Linked DNA regions of Homo sapiens: region 1 is linked to region 2. Evidence: promoter capture Hi-C in human tissues and cell types (Jung and others, 2019). All regions are on one chromosome and are shown on one strand. The core of a region is centred on a gene start or on the middle of the fragment in contact, and the rest is flanking DNA. Distances in the headings are between cores, read along the strand shown.

Region 1 (5,679 bases), core at 686-3,185, 270 kb after region 2:
TCCAGAAAACGGGACTCACCAGGAGAGCAGGGCACAAAGGATATCTGAGCCCTGGCCAGATGAGGAGGCAGCAAGAAGACTGGAGGTTGGGAAGGACACAGAGAAGCCAAGACGGAGTCAGACATATAACCAGAGATGTCAACTGGGCCACAAACAGCATCTCCAAAGAGCTCCATTTGGAAGAATGTATCTGAGGTCTACCAATACTAGCCCCTTGCCACAAACAAACAAACAAAATGCCAATTTCCCACATGAAGCCAAATCAAAACCCTAGTAGCAGTGCTTATTAAACGATTTAAAAAAAAAAAATCAAACCTCACAAAGTAAGGCTGACTCCCAAGAGTCATCTAGCTTTCCTGGAGACACAGAGACACATAACAAGAATGCTGGGAAATGATCAACTACAAAGGACCATGAGAGAAATTTTGGGGGTGACAGAAATGTCTTGATTGTGGTGATGGTGACTTCAGGCATCAGTCAGAATTCCTAGGAATGTACACCTAAAATGAGCTTTACCATATGAGAATTATATCTCAATAAACCTGTCTTAAAAACAAACACAGAAGCATGCCTTCAGAGTGTTTCCCAAACACGCCCTTATGCCACCATGCTTCAGAATCTACGGGGTGACATAAAGGCTTCCAGGGCACTAGAGAGGAATGCTGTTACAGACAACACCTGTAAGAAAACGTTTTGTGTAACAAAGCTACTTACATGTATCAACTAATACTTCACATAACCTTGCCAATCAGCTAACAAACATTTTCTAAAAAGAAAACACTGAGCAATTTTTTTCCTCTAGGTCCCTGTACAAAGCAACTCTTCTCTACAATGAAAATATGTACGTGATACCTTCTGTTCTGAGCATAAGGTGACCAGGACAAATACACTAAGTCACATCATCAAGGACTTAACTTTAACCTTATAACTCTTAGAACAGTAGCCATTCAAAAAGGACCAGGAAGTTTCAAAGGCAGCACAGAGGTGGGGAACACTCCGAACTCACTTGTTTTGCCCCAAAAACAAGAGGACCTAACAAGAAATTATTAGTATTATAAAAACAACTGTTACAATGAAATAATCTGGGGAAAAGTTTAAATTGTAAAATGGCCAGTATCATGTAATTATTTCCATTTTTTTCTGACTAGGGCAAGGAGGTATTATTTTCCTCATATTACCAACCAAACTGAATTCCTTTCAAAAAAACAATTTACTTACTGTTTCTTCTCATTCATTTCCCAGGCTTCAAGTATTCGTTCTATTAATTGACATTTTTGGAAAAGCTGAAAAAAAAAAAAAGAATATTCCAGTTAATACTTCAAAGCATCAAAACTTTAAAGTGAAACAGAACTCTAGGTTAAAGAGAATAGTAGTATGCATAATCTAGCAAGCTAAATGTTACTAAGCCAAATGCAATGTGATCATCAATCTACTGCAGACACCCACAACACTACAGAGATTCAAATCAGGATCCACACCCTCCACAGAACATCTACAGGAAACTCAGTATTATAGGTAGTGCAGTTAACTACCTATAGTTAACTATAAAGGAAAGCCAGGTTTTATTAGCTGTGAAAATTCAGAACAGAAATATAAAACCTGAGCTAAATTAAAATGGAATAAAGAAAACTATGCCTTGGCAAAAATTTAACTTAGAATCCAAAGTAATGCTTGTACTTTTAAAATGTGAGCACGTCTTACTTCCAGATGAACTAACATTACTGCATTAATATTAAAAACAGGTGGGTTTTGCCCAAAGTCTGCAAGTCAGTGACAACTGCTGTAGGCTGCAATACTGGAATGTGCAGGGCTAGTTCTTCTCAGGTGTCATTTGTCTTTCCCATCAACTTGGCTGTTCCAAGCTAGCCTTTTCTACATTTTAGGTTTGCGAGTAAACCAAGTGTGGGCTAGAAATTTTAAAAGTACCATAGAACTACCAAGCAAGAAAAAATCTGAAGACTGACTTAGTAAAATTATCTCATATTTGACAGAAGAGAAAAAGAGACCCCAGGAAGACTCTCAACATCACAAAGAACTCAGTTCTCCTGACTTTCAGTCACGTATTCAGCAAAGAAACTACACTCTGGTCAGCCAAATAATAGTGCAAATGTTTTCCATAGTATTTAAATTTCTATGATTCTTCAAATCATCAAAGAATTTATATATCTTCAAACCTATTAATTTTACCAAATAAGGAGGCCACTTAGCTTTTTTCTTACAAGACTGTTCATTTAATAGTTATTTGTCCAGTACTTGATTTATATAATGATTTATATGTTAAAAGTGAAACGAACACATGATTGTCAAATATTTAGACTCTGAAATCTAACCTCAAGCCCTTTAAACCTCAATTCACATCACAGTCAAGTGGAAAACTGCTATAACCAGGAGAGAGTGGGAGAAAAACGAGACCAAATAAGCTTACATGTTTTAATAACAAATTATCACCAGTGGAGTCTTGATCGGTAATTGTGGCATTTTCTGTGTTTTCAAAAGGACTTGCAAGAATCAGTGCAATACAAATTTCCACTTGTGTATGCAAAAAGTTATTCCATGTATACTTGAAGAACATGTTCTACAAAAAAGAAAAACCATGTTTTATTCGGTTACCTCAATGTTTAAGCCAATACTTAAATACATTTACAGAACAGTGATTTAATAAAGTAAAAATGATGTGCTCTCAGTCCAAAAGGACCAATTAAAAGGAACCTGAGTTCACATTAGTACTTGCATAACCACAGTTTCATTTTCTGTGGTTTCAGTTACCCACAGTCAACCATGATCTGAAAATAGGTGAGTATAATACAGTAAGACATGCTAATCCAAGAGATGACATTCACATAACATTCATTACAGTATAGATTTATAATTGTTCTACTTTATTATTAGTTATTATTAATCTCTTCCTGTGCTTAATTTATAAATTAAACTTTGTCACAGGTATGTATAGGAAAAACACATAGTATATATAGGGTTCGATAGCTGTGGTTTCAGGCATCCAAAGGAGTCTTGGAAGGTATCCCTCATAAATAACGAGGACTAAATGGGGATGTGAAGTATTGCTTTAGAGCCTAAATGGCGTGCTATCTGCTTATCTGACATGCCAGAACTGGTATGGAATCTAGTAAAAAACCAACAACAAACATACAAAGACAAGAGTACGTTTCTCCAAGAGAAAGGGAGTATCTTTTTTCTCTTCAAAGCAACTAACACAAATAGTTAGCGTGGTAAATTTTCTATAATTTTCAAAAAAATTTATAAGAGGCCAGGCGTGGTGGCTCATGCCTGTAATCTCTGCACTCTGGGAGGCCGAGGCGGGCGGATCACGAGGTCAGGAGATCAAGACCATCCTAACACGGTGAAACCCCGTCTCTACTAAAAATACAAAAAAATCGCTGGGTGTGGTGGCGGGCGCCTGTGGCCCCAGCTACTCAGGAGGCTGAGGCAGGAGAATGGCGTGAACCCAGGAGGCGGAGCTTGCAGTGAGCCAAGATCACTGCACTCCAGCCTGGGCGACTGAGCCAGACTCCATCTCAAAAAAAAAAAAAAATTGTAAGAATTTCATTTTGATGCAACAAATATTTACTGATGGTTTTTGTGCAGGGTATTGTATGAGATGCAACATGGCAGACAGAGATACACAAAAATACGGTCCACAGTCTTGAGGTGCTCATGACTCAACTCCAGCATACAAAAACTAGAGCTATCAGCAAAAACAAATGAGGATACGAGAGGCAGTAACGTGAATCTCCTGGAAGTACAAGGGTTTTCAAATTACTTGAAAAGGTAATAGCATTACAAAAGGGAAAGAATTTCTAAAAGTACAAAATGCCATATTTTGGAAGTCAATTTAGTATGTCATATTTAGGAAATGGTTGGGTCTGGTTATCTAATCTCAAAATGAAGAAGTAATGAGTAACTCCTCCAGTAGTCTCATCAAATTTAGTCTCATCAGAAGTAGTCCTAAAGATTAACAGAATAAATTAACAATAACTGTATATTGTTATTAGTAAAATTAAAGACCAGTGATCAATGACTTAGGAACGTTATATTCCCGGAGTTTTATACACTAGAAGGTAGGACAAAAACTACGTCCCCAGAAGGCAATGACCATGCTAGCTATCAAAGAAACTGTAATTCTTTAAATCTTCATCTCTTTTTCCAAATTGCTCCTGTTTTCTGTGCTCTATACTGATTTAACCCAAAGCTGAAACCTAACAAAAATATCTCGGTGACGCTAGGAAGCACAATGATGTGGTTGATAAAGCACGTATGGGTTTGAAATTGGGTGAATTCAAATCTTGGCTTCACCGCTCACTAGCCATGGAATGTATCCTCTCTCTGGGCATGATCTGAAAAACACATCCTCTCTCTCACTGTAATGTTCACCCGAGGGTCCTGGAGATCACCCAGGATCACATGAATAGTGTACATAAGATGAACATTACAATGCCTGTCATACAGTGAACAAACACCTCCTTTGAAACACCCCCACATCTCCCCCAAATATATGATGTGACCAGATGTCTTGTGAAACCTGCTAAAGTGTTAACCCTCGCGCTTTCTGTGCTGTGGGTGGCAGCACACAGAGAAGAAGCATGGGCTCCAGAGCTGGGCCTATGGATTCTAAGCACAGACTCTGAAACTGGGGAATTCAGGGGTCAGGGAGACCTAAATCATCCCTGGGCTTTTCCTTCTCCTTCCATCAGTAAGCAGGCTAATAACTGTGTCTCAAGGAAGAGTCAATCCAGACTCAAATCAATTAAGACCATATGGCGTCAGGTACGTTATACAGATACCTCCCAGTGGCAAGAAGATAAAGGTTTGTCCCCTCACTAAATATGAACAGAAAACAATGCTGCACCCAGCAGTCATTGTCCACGAGACGGAGCACGAGGGAAAAGCCGATGTCTCTTAATCATCTTCAAAATCCTATGTTACAATTCTTTATATAAAGCAACAGTAGATGCCTAGTGAACAATTATAAGCATTCGAAATTTATAATAAACTCAAGGCAAAAACTACATAAAACACCATTTATGCTCAGACCAAGAAAAGTCACTGACATAATGTAAATTTGTAAGGTTGTAACTTGGTTAAATATCCATGAAATATCAATGGCAAATTAAAATGTCTGTGAGCAGGGAAAATCTCACCAATATGACTCCAATGCTATTCAGCTCCATAAGGTCCCCATTTATACTGCTGGTATTGGTTTGAAGCAGGCTGGATATCAACCTAATGACATTCAACCGGGTATTCCCCACAGGAGGATCCAGCACACCCCATGTGGTCTTCATCACACTTTTCTGAAGAAGAAAAAGCTTTCCAATTAAATTCAGTTAAATGAACAAAGCAAATGGTGTATTTGCTAAGACATGACACTAGTTTAAACCCTGCAAACAACATGGCCTGAATTTTACACCTGAAACAACATCTAAAGCTGCTCTTGATATCTTTAAGATACAATGAAATAACCAAGCAGGAAAAAGGAAAAAAAAGCAAGGAATTTCCCTGGATCATAAATTTTATAAGAAATCAAGTGTCTCCCTGCCTCAACATTCCAAGCTGTTATGAGAAGAAAGCAGAAGGCTACAGAATATCCTAGGAAAAAGTACAATATTTCAAAATCTGACCAGAAATCTAAACTAAAAGAAGTTATGGCCGGGCACAGTAGCT
Region 2 (4,886 bases), core at 761-3,260:
TTCCAGGGAAAGGAGGGAAGGGCATTTGCGGTGAGAATGACAGTCCAGCTTCCGTAGTGCAAACCGCGAAGGCCCACGTGCAAGGAGAGCCTCACGCGCGAGAGCCGCCCGGGCTCGTGGGGTGCAGCCGCGCGTCAGGAACGTGTGCCCTGGCCCAGCCCACTGGCCTCTTGGGGCGGTGAAATCTGCGGGGGTCGAGTGCCTGGGCTCACTGGTGGTCCAGACAAGCGCAAGCAGGGGGACAAACCCCCAACTTCTAACCTCAAAGAAATGCAAATTAAAAGGAGAGATGAGAGATTCTTCCCTCCCCCACCCCTCCTTTTAGGATTGGCAAAGATTAAAATAATCCATAATCGGAGACAGGGCCCCGCTTGCACGCGCGGGTGGCAGTGGAAGTTGGTAAACTTTTCGGCATGGTAGCTTGGCCTGTGTCACCAAAATGTCGCACGTGCCTGGTTGCTTCCCCTCCAGGGATCTATCCTACAGGATAATCAGGAGCTCCAGGAGGTACATCGACGGCCAACGCAGCTTTTATTTATACCTGCAATGGTGGGGTGGGGGGCGGGGAGGAGGCCCTAATTGTCCAATGGGGGCCGCGTAAATGGATCACAGCATAGTCAAAGGAAATCTTATGCAGCCTTGGGAAGGCCGGTGGTCATCTCCGTCCCCCAGCAGAGACCTGTCTACGACGTAAGCCAAGTGAAAACAAAACAGCCTTACAGACAGCTTGCATCCTAGCCTTCCTTTAAAACAGCGAGCCCGGGAACCGCAGGGAGAGTTAACTGCAGCGGTGGTGGGGGGCGGGATCAAAGGAGAACTTTCATTTTCTCTTCTAAATTCTTCTGCGGTAACAACTAAATGATACAGAAAGAAGGATGGTTGCAAACATGGATTTTTTCATAACTAGAAGAAGTGGTCGAACTTAAAAAGAGCAGGGTTCATAAAAGAGGTTTAAAAGAGTCTTTGTTCATAACATCGGTGCATTTATGGAGCACCTGCTGTATGCAGAGCCGCCAGCTCGCGCCTGGAAGCATTGCGGGCAAAGATAGGGGAGGGGTGGCTCCCGGTCAGGAAGACCCCCTTGGCCCTCCTGTTACGCTTGGGGCCCCTCTCCCTCCCCCTCAACCCCCTGGGTCCCCTGCAGCTGCGCTCGCCCTAGACTCCTGGGACCGGTGGATGTTCAGTTCCCGCTCCCGGCCCCTCTCCCGAGCTCCAGCACAAGGGTCTCTCGGTCGCTCTGCCCTGGCCTCCAGCTACTCCTCTCCCAGCACCTATTATGTTCTTGACGCTGGAAGAATTATTTTAGTAAATCTCACCAAAGCCCCCCAAGTGAGGCATTTTTATCCTAGCTAGATGAGGAGGAGCCACGCTGCCTCTGGATCGCGATGACTGCCACTCGTGGTATAAGGTCTGATTTGGGGCATGGGCTGTGGAATCAGATCTGGACCCAATGTCCGATCTATCACTTCCCCGCGCTTTTTTTTTTAGAGACGGGGTCTCGCTACGTTGCCCAGGCTGGCCTCGAACTCCTGGCTTCAAGCGACTTCCCGCCTCCCGAGTAGCTGGGATTACAGGCGCGCCCCACCACTCCCTGTGGATCGGTTGCTTCTCAGCTCGGTGATGTGGGGTAACTTATTTCCTGGCCCGCGACCCTTGTCTGCATGAAAGAGTCAGGGGTGAATACCATCAGGGGGTGCCTGGAGCATTACACGGGGCAATGCCGATAGATAAGTCGCGAGGATCAGCCAGGCACGGAGCTAAGCGATTTTATGCGCACGGCCTCCACGAGATGGCTCGTTTTACGGATGAGGAAACTGAGGCTCGGAGGGTGAGGAATCTCGTCCTAGACCCCATTCCGGCAGAGGTCGAGGACGCGAGCACCCGCTCGAGCCTCAGTTTCCCTCCCCTCCTAGCCCCGCGGACGCCCCGCCCCGCCGAGGCCCCGGGCCCGCCCTCCGCGCGCCGGGAGTCACCCGCCTGCAGGCGCCGCAGCCGGACCCGCCTCAGCCAATCCGCTGCTGCCGGCGTCGGGTGCGCTCGGCCTCGCCCGCGGCCCTCCTTCCCCGGCTCCCGCTCGCCGCTCGTTCACTCCACCGCCGCCGCCGCCGCCGCCGCTGCCGCTGCCGCTGCCGCACCTCCGTAGCTGACTCGGTGAGGCCCGGTCGCCCGCGGTGGGGAGGGTGGCGGGGCGGCCCTGCGGGCTGCGGGGGCCGGGGACGGGCGGGGCGCGGGGCTGCCGGGAACCGGACCGGGTGGGGGACGCCGCCGGAACCGGGGCGCCGAGAGGAACCCCGGTATTCCCCCCGGACGGCGGGGTTGTGGAGATCCTGAACCCAGAAAGAGGCCGGGGCTCCCCATGTTCCCCAGGGGATTGGGTCTGAGGGTCCACCGGGGGTCGGTCCATCCGCAGGCGGGTCCCGTGCGGCCGCGGGAGGGATGCTCGGCCCTCCGGACTTGGCTGGACGCCTCCGGCCCGGGGCCAGCGGGGCCACCGGCTCCCTTGTCTCCCACTCCTTAATCCGCCCTGGACTGGATTGAGTCTGAGGGTCTGCCCAGGGGTCGGTCAGCCTGCGGGTGGCCGCGGGAGGGATGCTGGACGCTCTGGATGCTTTCCAGGATGCCTTCGCCCGGGGCCAGTAGGGCCTCCGGCTCCTGTCCCTGCCCATCCCACCCTGGCTCTGGAGAGGATTGGGTCTGGGGGTCCGCCCGTGGGTTGGTCACCTACGGGCAGGTGCAGTGCGGCTGAGGGAGGGGTGCTCGGCCCTCGGGATTCGGCAGGGCGCCGCTGACCCCATCCCAGCGTCCGTCTCCCCGGTCCCCCTCCCCATGCCCGCCCTCGCGGTGCAGCCGTCGGGACACGCCCTTGGCGCAGGGACTCCAGGCGCGGTCCGAGCGCTGCCGTGAGCAGGATGAGGGTGCCGGGCCCAGTGCCTGCTTGGGAGCGCCCCGCAGCCTCTCCCGTGCAGCGCTGGGTCAAGGGCGGGTGGGCGCGGAGCATGTGCCCAAGGTCGTGCCGGGCTGGGAGCGGCGGGGCCGCGGGAGGGTGGGGGTGTCACGTGGCCGTGCCCTGGCGAACTTGGCCTGCGAGCCCGACGGTGCGGTCAGGGCCACGCGGGGCAGCCCCTTCTCGGAGCCACCGCCGCGGCCAGCCAACAGCCGGCTTCTTTCGGTTTGTCAGGAGAGGCCATGGGTCAGCGTCTTTATAATGTAAATCCGCCCTTGGCTTTCGTTAAAGCCGCAGAACTCAAAGATGAGGGCCGATCTTACTTTAAAAAAAGAAAACAACTCAGAGAGTTAAAAATCCCAACTACCTACCAGGTTAAATACATAACAAAGTTAATATTCCCAACTCGGCACAGGCTTTCGGTTCCTCTCGGCTCCGTGTGTTATAAAATATTTAAGGGCAGATTTTAGTAGGAAGCTGGTAACTTTGTAAGTTACCGAATAAAATGAAAATCGGTTTTACCTTTTGCAACGTTGTATTTTGTTACACCATTTTCTTCCACAGGTGTCCGGTTTCTGGTCATTCCAGATATGCAAGCATGTTTATTTCATTCTAAGCCACAAACCAAGTGAATAAAAAATGGCTGAGCACTGGTCTTCTATTTATGCCAGGAAGCACCCCCACCCCCGGGCCTTTCCAAATTCTTTAAGGCGACTCTGACCGAGTGAACGTAGCAATAAATTGAGGACATAAGTGTCGCTGAGAATGCACACCGCTGAGGCCAGCGAACATCCAGCTGTCAGTTGGTCTGGGGACTATCAGCATTCGCAGCTGGTTCTTTGGATTGGTTTTGCCTCAATACCAAGAGCCTGTGGACTGCTTTTCGCATGTAAATTACTGGTTTCCTTCCTGTGAAGCATTGCTAGCCTAGACCTTGCACTTGAACCCTATCTTAACAGTTGGAATCAAACAATAAAAAGGGCCAGGTTTGGGAGTGCACACACTTTGTTTCAAAGTGGCAGAAGTTGGCATCATGCACAGGCCAAAATAACGTTTCGAGTTGGTACTAAAAACAAGCCGCCTACCCTGGAGGGGAAGAGAATTAAACTGGGTCCCTTCCGATACTGCTGCGGCTGCTGCGTTTGGCCCCGGCCCCGGACCAGTGGTCACCGAGCGGTCAAGTTGGGCCTCCGGGGAGCCCTGGAACGAGGGCCTGCCCTTACCCAACCCTGGCCCCGAGTGCTCATTCATAAAAACACCGTCAGTTTTCACTGAGGCTTCACAGTGAGCCCCTTTTAGACGCGCCCTGGGCTCTTGAGCGCGGTGCCTGCGTTTCTGGCTCGTTGGATGCAGCATCTGTCATCAGAAGCACTGAGCACCGAGCTGTCCCCACAGCTGGGCACCGCAGGGCTCGACCTTCCCACGGAGAGGTGCGTTGCATTTCTCCCGCTGTCGCTGGGGTGGCCACAGGGACGCGCGCCAACTCGCTCCGGAAGGTCTCTGTGGGCACGGCGGGTGGAACAGGATCCGAGCGCCTGGGACGCGCCAGCCTGGGGGCGGGGCTGCTGCTGACCTTTCCCCTACTTTTCTCAGCCGTCACGTGACGCCGCCCGGGGCTTGGGGGAAGGGGCGGGGCGCGAAGCCGCAGTTGCTGGCGGTGCCCTTCCGAGGACGCTTTCCAAGCGAGCAATTAAACTTGCTGCCCGAAATCTAAAGGCGCAGGGGCGGTGGCAGCGGCGGCGGGAGGCGGAAACCGGAGCCTGCGCGGGCCAAGGGCTGCTTCTGCACTTTGATCGTTTGCATTTTTTCCTTTGTTGGAAAAAATGTTTAGTCACTCTGCATGGTTATTATTGGCAGGCCAGAATTCTGTTGCTGGTGGAAGCCTGAACTTGAATTCCGGAAGAATTGGTGCTTTAAGAATTAAAATGGCTGTTCGAGATTG

Evidence for each region. Contacts are between HindIII fragments. The study calls those that stand out against the background at their distance.
Region 1: a contact is called between a fragment that was not itself captured here and the fragment with the promoter of CPT1A in region 2, in 1 of the 25 tissues and cell types used here (H1 embryonic stem cells).

Annotation. Positions count from the first base shown.
Region 1 is chr11:68,566,644-68,572,322 of GRCh38, reverse strand. It overlaps PPP6R3 (protein phosphatase 6 regulatory subunit 3), which reads right to left. Exons shown (of 24, transcript NM_001164161.2): 10 at 5,157-5,309; 11 at 2,426-2,575; 12 at 1,219-1,283. Among named protein-coding and RNA genes, the nearest start is that of PPP6R3, 110 kb to the right of the region's middle. The HindIII fragment of the contact is 3,874 bases long and covers 1-3,872 here.
Region 2 is chr11:68,839,040-68,843,925 of GRCh38, reverse strand. CPT1A (carnitine palmitoyltransferase 1A) reads left to right here and starts at 2,010. Exons shown (of 19, transcript NM_001876.4): 1 at 2,010-2,151. RefSeq lists enhancers at 1-188, 229-368, 1,091-1,616, 3,825-3,984 and silencers at 1,762-2,121, 2,142-2,191, 2,402-2,481, 2,742-2,841, 2,892-3,171. The HindIII fragment of the contact is 31,646 bases long and covers 1-4,886 here.